3 separate regions of the Homo sapiens genome follow, and regions 1 and 3 are each linked to region 2. The links are contacts of gene promoters, found by promoter capture Hi-C in blood cells and fetal thymus (Javierre and others, 2016). All regions are on one chromosome and are shown on one strand. The core of a region is centred on a gene start or on the middle of the fragment in contact, and the rest is flanking DNA. Distances in the headings are between cores, read along the strand shown. Region 1 overlaps FAM118B (family with sequence similarity 118 member B). Region 2 holds the start of STT3A-AS1 (STT3A antisense RNA 1). Region 3 overlaps LOC107984406 (a long non-coding RNA gene).

The links. Contacts are between HindIII fragments. The CHiCAGO score rates a contact against its expected background, and 5 or more counts as called.
Region 1: a fragment that was not itself captured here is called in contact with the fragment with the promoter of STT3A-AS1 in region 2 in 3 of 17 cell types (non-activated CD4 T cells, naive CD8 T cells and M2 macrophages); the score reaches 10.1 in non-activated CD4 T cells.
Region 3: a fragment that was not itself captured here is called in contact with the fragment with the promoter of STT3A-AS1 in region 2 in 1 of 17 cell types (naive CD8 T cells); the score reaches 5.7 in naive CD8 T cells.

The regions. Positions count from the first base shown.
Region 1 is chr11:126,252,917-126,256,387 of GRCh38, reverse strand. It overlaps FAM118B (family with sequence similarity 118 member B), which reads right to left. Exons shown (of 9, transcript NM_024556.4): 6 at 1,955-2,083. It also overlaps a transcript of SRPRA not described here. Among named protein-coding and RNA genes, the nearest start is that of SRPRA, 14 kb to the left of the region's middle. The HindIII fragment of the contact is 1,329 bases long and covers 1,198-2,526 here.
Region 2 is chr11:125,591,191-125,594,670 of GRCh38, reverse strand. It overlaps STT3A-AS1 (STT3A antisense RNA 1), which reads left to right and starts at 2,103. Exons shown (of 4, transcript NR_132372.1): 1 at 2,103-2,253. It overlaps STT3A (STT3 oligosaccharyltransferase complex catalytic subunit A), which reads right to left and starts at 1,819. Exons shown (of 18, transcript NM_152713.5): 1 at 1,753-1,819. RefSeq lists enhancers at 1,953-2,547, 2,665-2,834. The HindIII fragment of the contact is 3,144 bases long and covers 943-3,480 here.
Region 3 is chr11:124,942,171-124,945,417 of GRCh38, reverse strand. It overlaps LOC107984406 (a long non-coding RNA gene), which reads right to left. Exons shown (of 2, transcript XR_001748429.3): 2 at 1,828-2,018. Among named protein-coding and RNA genes, the nearest start is that of HEPACAM, 7.7 kb to the right of the region's middle. The HindIII fragment of the contact is 516 bases long and covers 1,600-2,115 here.

The sequences.
Region 1 (3,471 bases), core at 613-3,112, 660 kb before region 2:
CTAAAATTTTATCTTTACCTGCCATTCTTCTGTAGGCTCTCTAATCAGCGTTTCATAGAGCTGGTGTCAGTGTACTGGTGCAGTAGTTTACTTCTTTATTTTTTATGCTTTATATATTTTTTGAGACGGAGTCTCACTCTTTCACCTGGGCTAGAGTGTAGTGGTGTGACCTCGGCTTACTGCAACCTCCACCACCCTGGTTCAAGTGACTCTCATGCCTCAGCCTCCCGAGTATATTACAAGTGTGCACCACCACACCCAGCTAATTTTTGAATGTTTAGTAGAGACGGGGTTTTGCCATGTTGGCCAGGCTGGTCTGGTACTCCCGACCTCGAGTGATCCACCCACCTTGGCCTCCCAAAGTGCTGGGATTACAGGCGTGAGCCACTGCACTTGGCCAGTAGTTTACTTTTTTATTTTTATTTTATTTTTGAGACAGAGTCTTGCTCTGCCACCTAGGCTGGAGTGCAGTGGCATGGTCTTGGCTCACTGCAACCTCCTCTGCCTCCCAGGTTCAAGCGATTCTCCTGCCTCAGACTCCCAAGTAGCTGGCATTACAGGCACCTGCCAGCACGCCCAGCTAATTTTCCTATTTTTAGTAGAGACAGGGTTTCACCATGTTGGCCAGGCTGGTCTGGAACTCCTGACCTCATGTGATCTGCCTGCCTCAGCCTCCCAAAGTGTTGGGATTACAGGCGTACTTTTTTAGATTTATGTGCCCAGAGGTCATTGTGCAAAGAGTAGGTCTTCATATATCTTAATCCTTCCATTTCTGGACCATATTTGCCTTTGTCTCACAAACTGAACTGTGAATCACCAGAGAAGATAATTCCATCATCGGATTTGCTCAAGGAAAGGCGTTTGATACTTAGAACATCAGTATGTGTGTGTGTGTGTATACATATACACACACAAAAACACAGAAATGACTGCCTAAGGGATCACTCAATGTCAGAGATGGATGCAGTTATGGCAGATGTTGGGAAAGAATGGGTAAAAAGAAAAAAAAGTCCCTTGTGCTTTAGACAATACATTTTCTCGGTCTTTTGCCTCATTATTAAAAGATGCTATAATCTATATGACCCAGTCCTGAAAACAGCAAACAAGATTCTTAGAGCTGGGGGCAGCGAATACTTCTGGTTTGAACATGTTTATCTGAACAAGTCGAAAATGTGCATCCCAAAAGATCAATAAGCTTTTCACAAAGAGTAAGTGTGAATAAATGTGGTTAATTCAATATAAGCCCATTGCCATTTATACAAAGTCTCTTTAGAATGTATTCTCTAGTAGTGGTTGGTTTGTTAAGAAGCTGCCTCAATTATTTCTGACACAGAGAGGGCTATTAATAAACCAAATGATGATAAAGGGTACTAATGTATCCTTTGTATGTGAAGATGATGCCAATGATGACATGCCATCTGCTGGTTGTCAATTAAGTACAAACAAAGATCATAGGGTTTGACACCTTAAGAGAAATTCTACATTTCCTAGACAGCATGCACACCCATAAGTTAAGAAGCACAGGAAGAACGTCTGACTTTCCAGTTTCTTTCTTTTTTTAGAGATAGGGCCTTGCTCTGTCACCCAAGCTGGAGTGCAGTGGCTCTAGACACAGCTCACTACAGCCTTATATTCCTAGTCTCAACTAATCTTCCTGCCTCAGCCTCCCAAGTAGCTGGGACAGCATGCACCATGATGCCTAGCTAATTTTATTTTTGTAAAGACAAGAGTCTCGCTATGTTGCCCAGGCTGGTCTCGAACTCCTGGCCTCAGGTGATCCTCTCCCCTTGGCCTCCCAAAGTGTTGGGATTATAGGCATGAGCCACTGCTCCTAGCCCCTGACCTTCCGTTTTCACTTAATGAAAAGAAGATGTTCCCCTTTAAGATCTATGGCATATTTAGAGAGATTTCCCAGGAAGGAGTTCCTGAGACCAGCAAGATCAGCCCCACTCACCATGACTTCAGTGTTCCTGAGCACGTTCTGATATCCAGCCGGATGAAGGACAATGCCACTAGGGTTGGTGTAGACTCCGTGAATATGCAACACGCTCAGCTTACGCTTCTCCTGAGCCCACTCGAGGACCTGCACAACACACATATAGCCCAACCAGCTTGGCAGGGCTGAGCACCTGTTTAAAGGTCACAATGGGCAAGAGGCTGTTTTGAGGACTAGACTTCTGACATAAACTCTCTAGCTTCATGATATAGGACAAGAATGCAAAACCTGATGTGGTCTAAGTTTCCACTTCAGGAATGACTGTCAAGAATGATGGCAACAAATTTGGTGATTTCTCTTTGAAAGTAAGCATCAAAAATCACAATTTGTCATAATTTGCAGAAACAACAGGGACCCTTTGCACTGGTGGCATGCATGAGAGCTATGGACAACTGCTTCAGTGATCGCCCCAAGAAATCAAGCCTCTGTATCCAGGCCCTTGTGTGGCCCCTCTTCGGAGTGACTCCAGGCTAACCACATGGCTTGCTTTTAGCCAATGGGATACTAGCAAACACACACAAGCAGAAGCTTGAAAAGTGTTGGCACAAGAAGTCTTACTTCTCTTGTGTTACTTTTGGAATCCAGCTGCCATGCGAAGAAAGTGAAGAAGCCTGGGCTAGCCTGCTGGGACATATATGGCCTGGCCAATTGCTTGCAGGGAAGTATGGTCCCCTTATATCACTCAGCCCTGGTGCGGCCATCAGATGTCTGCAGGTATGTGAAGAGGGTGCAAAAATCAGCAGAAAAAATGCCTGGCTGAGTCACTGAGCCCAGTTCAAATTGTTAATATACTTTATCATGGGCAGATAAGATATTTGTTGTTACAAGCCACAAAGTTTCACGGCCATTACTTGTACAGCAATAGATAAGTGATAGAAAAATCACTTCAGTCACCTCTGAGGAACCTAAAAGGCTGCCAGCGAAGAACAATCATTTAGACAACAGCGAATGCAATAGCCACCTGATTCCATGGCTCCATTTTCCCAAGGACTGGAGACAGCATACATTTATTCTTATCACATTTTGGAGAAATAGGCTATGAATCAGGAAAGTAGTCAAGAGGCACCGAGATTTAGAATTTGAATGTTACTAGGCCCCATTCTGACTACCAGTCAATGTCTTTAACCATTAGACTGCAACACTGCCCCTAATGTGGGCTGAAAATACAATGCAAATCTTGAGGCCCAAGGATGAAATGAGAAGGAAAACATCAAATGTGATAGATATCCTCAGCTTTTAAAAGGTCCTTATGCTTCTGATATCCATGAACACACTTGGTCATAATCTTTGGAAATTTTATCACAAATAGCATAGAAGCTGCTAGTTTTAAAATTTCAATCATTTGTTTGTTTGTTTTTAGACAGAGTCTTGGTCTGTTGCCCAGATTGGAGCACAGTGGCGCAATCTTGGCTCACTGAAACCTCTGCCTCCTGGGTTCAAATGATTCTCCTGCCTCAGCCTCCCAAGTAACTGGG
Region 2 (3,480 bases), core at 854-3,353:
ATTTATATAGCAATATAGCACTAATCTACCATAGGTTAGTTATTCTTGTATAAGACAGTACTACTATCTTTTTTTTTTTTTTTTTTTTGAGACGGAGTCTTGCTCTGTCGCCAGGCTAGAGTGCAGTGGTGCCATCTCGGCTCACTGCAACCTCCATCCACCTCCTGGGTTCAAGCGATTCTTCTGCCTCAGCCTCATGAGAAGCTGGGACTACAGGTGTGCGCCACCACGCCCAGCTAATTTTTGTATTTTTAGTAGAGACGGGGTTTCACCATGTTGGCCAGGGTGGTCTGGATCTCTTGACCTCATGATCTGCCCACCTCAGCCTCCCAAAGTGCTGGGATTACAGGCGTGAGCTACCACGCCCAGACCTACTTTTTTAAATTACAAGGTGATCAAGAGCTAAGTTATAACGACTATAACAAAGGATATGCAACACCATTCAAGATGTTTTGCTTTTATTCTTTTTGACTGACACATAATTGTACATATTTATGGAGTACAGTGTGACATTTTGGTACATGTATATAATGTGTAATGATCAAGTCGGGAAATAATTAGTAGATTCATCACCTTATTTTTTTTGTCTTAGGAATATTCAAAATCCACTCTTCTAGCTATCTGAAAATATACAACAAATTGTGTATTTTTGTTGTTAATTATACTCCTAATAATAGTTATCCTATAGAACACTAGAATTTATTCCTATCTAGTTGTACTTGTGTATCCCTTAACAAACGTTTGTCTATCCTCCTCCATGAATCTTTTTTCCCACTATTATTGGAATAAAGGAGAAAAACAAAACAACAACAACACTGGACTAGGTGGAAGGCATATAGAATGCTAGCCCCAACACTGAGAAGTCAAGCATGTTCTCCATAATTAACTGTCCCAGAAGAGCAGTTTAGAAATGTGTTTAAGTATAGTCCCAAAGGGAAAGCTTACTTTGCAACTAAAAATAAAGGCCTAACTACTCCAGGAGGTCAACAATCCAGCCATATCTCTCAGGGTTTGCAGCTGTTTTCTGGAATGCCTGAAATAGGAACAAACTTAACACCACTGCGTTGATACGAGCCACACACCAAAATGAGACTGCTAGGATCTCTACTTGAAAACTTGAGTAAACGAGCTAGTCATTGAGGGCAGGGCCGTAAGGGAGATTTCATCTCGTGCTCTTTGGTCACTTTCGCACACCGCCAAGCAAATAAGAGCAAAGACACCTTTCTTAAAACACTTACCAACCTGCTCTCCTCAACTGTGCCCTGCAAGCTGTGGCATCTCCTGCCACCCTGCCTCTAGTTTCCCAGACTGCAATTTCCCCAGCCCCGTTTTCCTACACACGTTTCCACACCCTCTCACGATCTTTTACTCTCTTCTCCCTTCCGGTCGTTCCAGCGGGTCCCACCTCCCTCTTCTTCCCACCCTCAAAGAACTGACCACCTCTGATACCCCTCAGCGCGGGACACTCATCACCCCAGCATCCTACGCGCCTTCCCCTCCATAACTAGTCCCAGGACCCAGTCTTTCCCACGCTCTGTTCTCAAGACCCACCTTACCCTCCCTCCCTAGACCTTCGCATCCTTCCATCCAGGAAGCCCCCACACCACGCCCCACGCCCCCTCCTCTGCAAGGCCCTAAGCTCTGCTCTCCACCCCCATTTAGAGTTTTGCCTCCTGCACTTCGTTCAGCCCCATCAACGCCATGGACTGCACCTGCCGCTGATTTTCAAGTTACGTTCTACGGCCTTCTCACCTGGCCGGCTTTCCTAAACGATCCGCGGGGCTCCCTCAGCCATCCGTTCAGCGGCGCACCCAACCCTGGCAGGAGCCGGGTCCGCCTCCCGGACCGCTCCCCCGTTGGCTGGCTCCAGGCCAATAGGACGCTTCTGGAGAGCGATAGGGTCTCGGAACTGTCTGTCAAATCCGGAGGCGTAAACCGGGCCGCGATTCAAGTTTTTAATTGGTCATTACAGCTATCACTTAGCAGTCTAGAGGCAGGTCTGTATGCTCCCGCCGAGCTGTCATAGGCCGGCGCGTAGGAGTCAAGAGCGCGGAAAGAACGTGCCCCAAGCAGTTTGGTTGAGGGCCGAGGAGTGACGTGTCGGTTTGCGGACCCACGGGGAGTCGCAGTGGGAAGGCGCGGCCCACTGACTCCCGTCATGTGACAAGAAGCGGAAACTACGCTGAAATAGGCCCTTGCTCCAAGTCCCAGTAACTCGGAATGCGGAGCCGCTCGTCTCCCGTCTTTTTTAAGGTAGAAATTGTTACCTAATACAAGGTGAAAGGAGAGGAGGGAAGCATTTTCTACCTATTTATTCTCAATTAAAACTCAAACGCGGACTGGTCCAGACAGTTCGTCTTTTGCAGGATGTGCCTGATAGTTGACTCGAGCTTTTACTGTGCCTTGGTAACTGCGATGGACCTGGGAACCTTGACAGAGTTCACAGCCCCTGGTTTTGTGAAAGAGCGTGCCTAGGCCTAAAGGGGTTGTCGGGGCTAAGCTGGAAGCATTTCTACTGCCAGCTGAGACAGCCACCGCCGCGGAGGCACAGCCCTCCCCAGCAGCAAGCGGGCTTCCTCGGGAGACCGGGAGGCAGCCCGGCCATGCTTAGTCAGTTCAGCCCTTTGTTAAAATACCGGCCAGAGAGCCGCTCTCCCTATCCTAACTTGCCTCTCTTCTCTCGCACCCCACGCGCTCCCCGACCCCCAATAAGTTTGCTGAGGGCAGAGAAGGGGACGAAGTTTGAGCAGCAATTCCATCATCTCAGACTCGCACGTGTACACCTTTATCCTCAGGCACTTCCACTCCCTGCGCGCCTCGGTGAGCCAAGGCTACACCAGAGAGAGTGGGAACGTCTCGCAGCTCTTCGAACTTGTTGCCTCTACCACTCACGCAGTTTCCTATTCTCCCATGAACGGAACCCACCACTTATTGAAAGGTCATTATTTAAATCACTGCTTCAGAATCACATGCATTTTTTTCAAAATCCACATGACCAGGCTCGCCCCAGGACGTTATGATTCAATAGATCTGCTTTTTTTTGGTTTTGTTTTTAGTAGTAAGTGTTCGATGTAATTTTACTTTAACAAAAGGAAACTGAAGCTGAGCCTGAAGGAATTACAGAACTTGGAGTAAATGCTTCTTCAAAATACGAGTTTTGGTCGGGCGCGGTGGCTCACCCCTGTAATCCCAGCACTTTGGGAGGCCAAGGCGGGCGGATCACGAGGTCAGGAGGTAGAGACCATCCTGGCCAACATGGTGAAACCCGTCTCTACTAAAAATAGAAAAATTAGCTGGGCGTGGTGGCGCGTGCCTGTAATCCCAGCTACTCGGGAGGCTGACACAGAATCACTTGAACCAGGGAGTCGGAGGTTGCAGTGAGCCGAGATCGTGCCACTGCACTCCAGCCTGGCGACAGAGCTGGACTCCGTCTCAAAAAGAAGTTTTTTCTCTTTAAAAATAAAAAAGCGGGGAGGGGGG
Region 3 (3,247 bases), core at 608-3,107, 650 kb after region 2:
CACAGCAACGTGAATGTAGTAAATCCCACTGAAATGGACACCTTAAAAAGTTAAAATGATAAACTGTATATTTTATATATTTTACCACAATAAAAATAAATGGAAATAGATTTTATTTTAAAAAAAGCAGTAAGGCTTTCTAGATAACTATTTGGAGAAAGCCAAGTTATTCATTTGTGTGTGTTCAGCTATGATTATTTAAATTATCTACTATTAATAGTCACATTCTCTATATCCCAAATCTTTGGGGATAGCATATTACAGTGGAGAAAGGGGTTTTAGAGCTAAACTTGGGTTTATGTTCCAGTTCTGCAATTTACTATCTGTGGTCAAGTCACATTATCCAAGTCTTTATTTCTAGATATGTAACATATGTAATAACAATTGACCCTTGAGGGTTTGTTTGTGTTTTGTGAGAAGTAATGTTACATATGTAAAATATATCATGCATAATAGACTTTCAGTAAATGCTTGCTAACTTTTTTTTAGGAAGCAAGATAGAGTCATAAAACCTTAGAAGATTTTGATTTGTCTTCCCAGCATCCCTTCTCCCGCTTTTTCTAGTAATGGCCCCACCTGTGACTGTGGGGTTAAGTACATGGCCCAGCCTGGGATAGTGTTCTAGTCTCCTTGCTACAGTGATTGATCCAGAGCTGTGCATGTGACCTAAGCCATGGCCTTTTGCCAAGATTATTTTTTAACTAGTTCCATCAAGAGTCTTCTTCTCCTGCCCGCATGACAAGCTGCACTGTCCAATATGTTAACCACTAGATACATGTGTTAAGTTTAATTACAATTAAATGAAATTTATAATGTATTTCCTCAGTCCCACTAGCCACACGGGGCTAATTAATGGCTACTATATTTGACAGCACAGATATAAAATACTGTCTTATTTCCAATTATTCCTGCTCCCTGAAAAATTTTGTTACATAATGCAAGAAATTCTTCCCTTTTTGCTTCAGATAGTTCCAGTTGAACTTCAGTCACTTACAATCAAATGATCTTGACAAATCACATTCCTTAGTTTGTCGGGCCACAAACCAGATGCAGAATCTTGGAGGCCTGACTTTGGCATGGATCTTTAAACTAGACAAAGCCAAATCCTGTAAGTACTGCAACAAGGGGAAAATTGGGGGCTGTCTTCAAGACACCTCTGCTGACAACTTAGCTAGGGCCTCCTTTTAAGAAATGTGGTCCCTCCCCATATTGAATCCTGTGTATCACAAATCTATCTTCTTAGTGTCCCTGGCCTAACCTGTGGGGGCCCAGTTTCCCTTGCTTACTAAGCTTTTTTTTTTTTTTATGGTCCTGTCACCTGCCTGATCCCTTTTCTCACATCTTGTCTCAGAACTCTCCTTTTCCTACTTAGTTTTTACTTCTGGGCCTGGCTGAAGGCAACCTCTTTCAGGGGTACAGCATTATGAACACTAGACAGGAAGCACAGCTGAGTCTAAGCTGTGCCAACTTGCAAATGTGAAGGAAACCTCTTTCAGGGGTACAGCATTATGAACATTAGACAGGAAGCACAGTTGAGTCTAGGCTGTGCCAACTTGTAAAATGTGTGACTTGGAGCAGGTTATTTAACCTCTCTAAGCTTCATGATCCTCCTTGAAAAATGGAAAAAAAAATCCCACTGCACAGCGTTGTTAGAAGGCTAAATAAAATAATATTCTAAAAGATAATTTGTAAAGGGCAATGCAAATGTTTTATCAATTATACTTGCTTATAGATGTAGGTGCAGCCTTCCCAGCTATAATATATTTCAGCTCCTAGACAGGGATCCAGGGATGGTGTCGTCTATTACTTTTGAATGTGCCGCCTTCCTCCTCTTCCACATCCCACCACTTTTATTAATGTTTGGAACATAGAGTGTTCTTCACACAGTAGGCAATTATCAGATGCTGGCCAGCTGATTCCCATTTCTGAGCCTCCCTCTTTGGTAGGAGGGTGAACGACGGCAGAGGGCAGCGAATCCTTCCCCTGACACGGTTGGTGGGTGGACACCATCTGAGGATCTAGGAGAAGGGAAACAGTGAAGGCTTTCATGAGTTGGGGTGTAATTTGTGGCTTCCCCATGATTTTTCAACCTGTTTGTATTTAAGCACTGAAGCTTTACAAGAACAGAACTCCAGAGATATTCTCCAGAATGTCCTTGCTGCATCTTAAATAGGTCAGCAAAAGCTGGATCTTTCCAGCCCTTTAATACCAATTAATTTCTCCTCTTTGTTCCTCTGGAGAGTGGCTGAATAGAGCACGTTTAGCAACCATGGACACAAGCCTGAGTCCCTCTCACTTTCTGAGGAGGCCGGAATTCTATTCAAAAATCAAATATTTACTCTCAGTATAAAAGACTTTGATGTTCTCCTGTTTTCAGCAGAGAAATGGGAGCCCCTCCTTGCTGCCCTTCCAAAATTTACCCAGGACCCCATGCCACTCCCAGGATCATGTATTTCTCCCAACAAACTCCACATCTTGTGGAGACACCATATCTCTGCAGAACCCTTTTCATCTGAGTAACTCTTCATGTTTACAGAAATCTGCAGCCAGCAAAACCAATTTCAGGATGAAGGAGCCTTTTGACTCCATTTCTACTTTCTATTTGATGTTTTTCTGAGGCCCCCAGAGTAGGGCCACCTAGGAGAACTTTAGAAAGAGAACGAATAGAAAAGAAAATGTTCTTGGGGAGGGCCATTCCTCACTGTCCAGGCATACAGAAAGCTTGTTTTGTTCCGAAGGGAGCTAGCTAATCTGTCTCTTATTCAGAGCTTGCTGTAGGAGCTGGGCCCTGCCTCCTCTCAACACAAAGCCTCATACAATCTCGTTGTTTCCCAGGCAATGTGCTGCAGCTCTACAAATTCTCTGGCTGGTGTTTGCCTCCTGCGTCCTCTGTCCATTAGGAGAAATCAAACTTATGGTAGAGACAACACCAGTACCATTTGCATATAGATTTATACAACAAAAAATAAAAATGAAAATAACTTCATCACTAGGCCAGGCACAGTGGCTCATACCTGTAATCCCAGCAGTTTGGGAGGCCGAGGTGGGTGGATCACGAGGTCAGGAGTTCAAGACCAGCCTGGCCAAGATGGTGAAACCCTCCAACCTGGGTGACAGAGTGAGACTCCATCTCAAAAAAAAAAAAAAAAAAAGAAAGAAAGAAAGAAAGAAAGAAAGAAAGAAAATACCTTCACCAATACTAGAAGGCCCAAGGAGTGGGGAGAGAGGGCTGCTTCATATCCAGAGC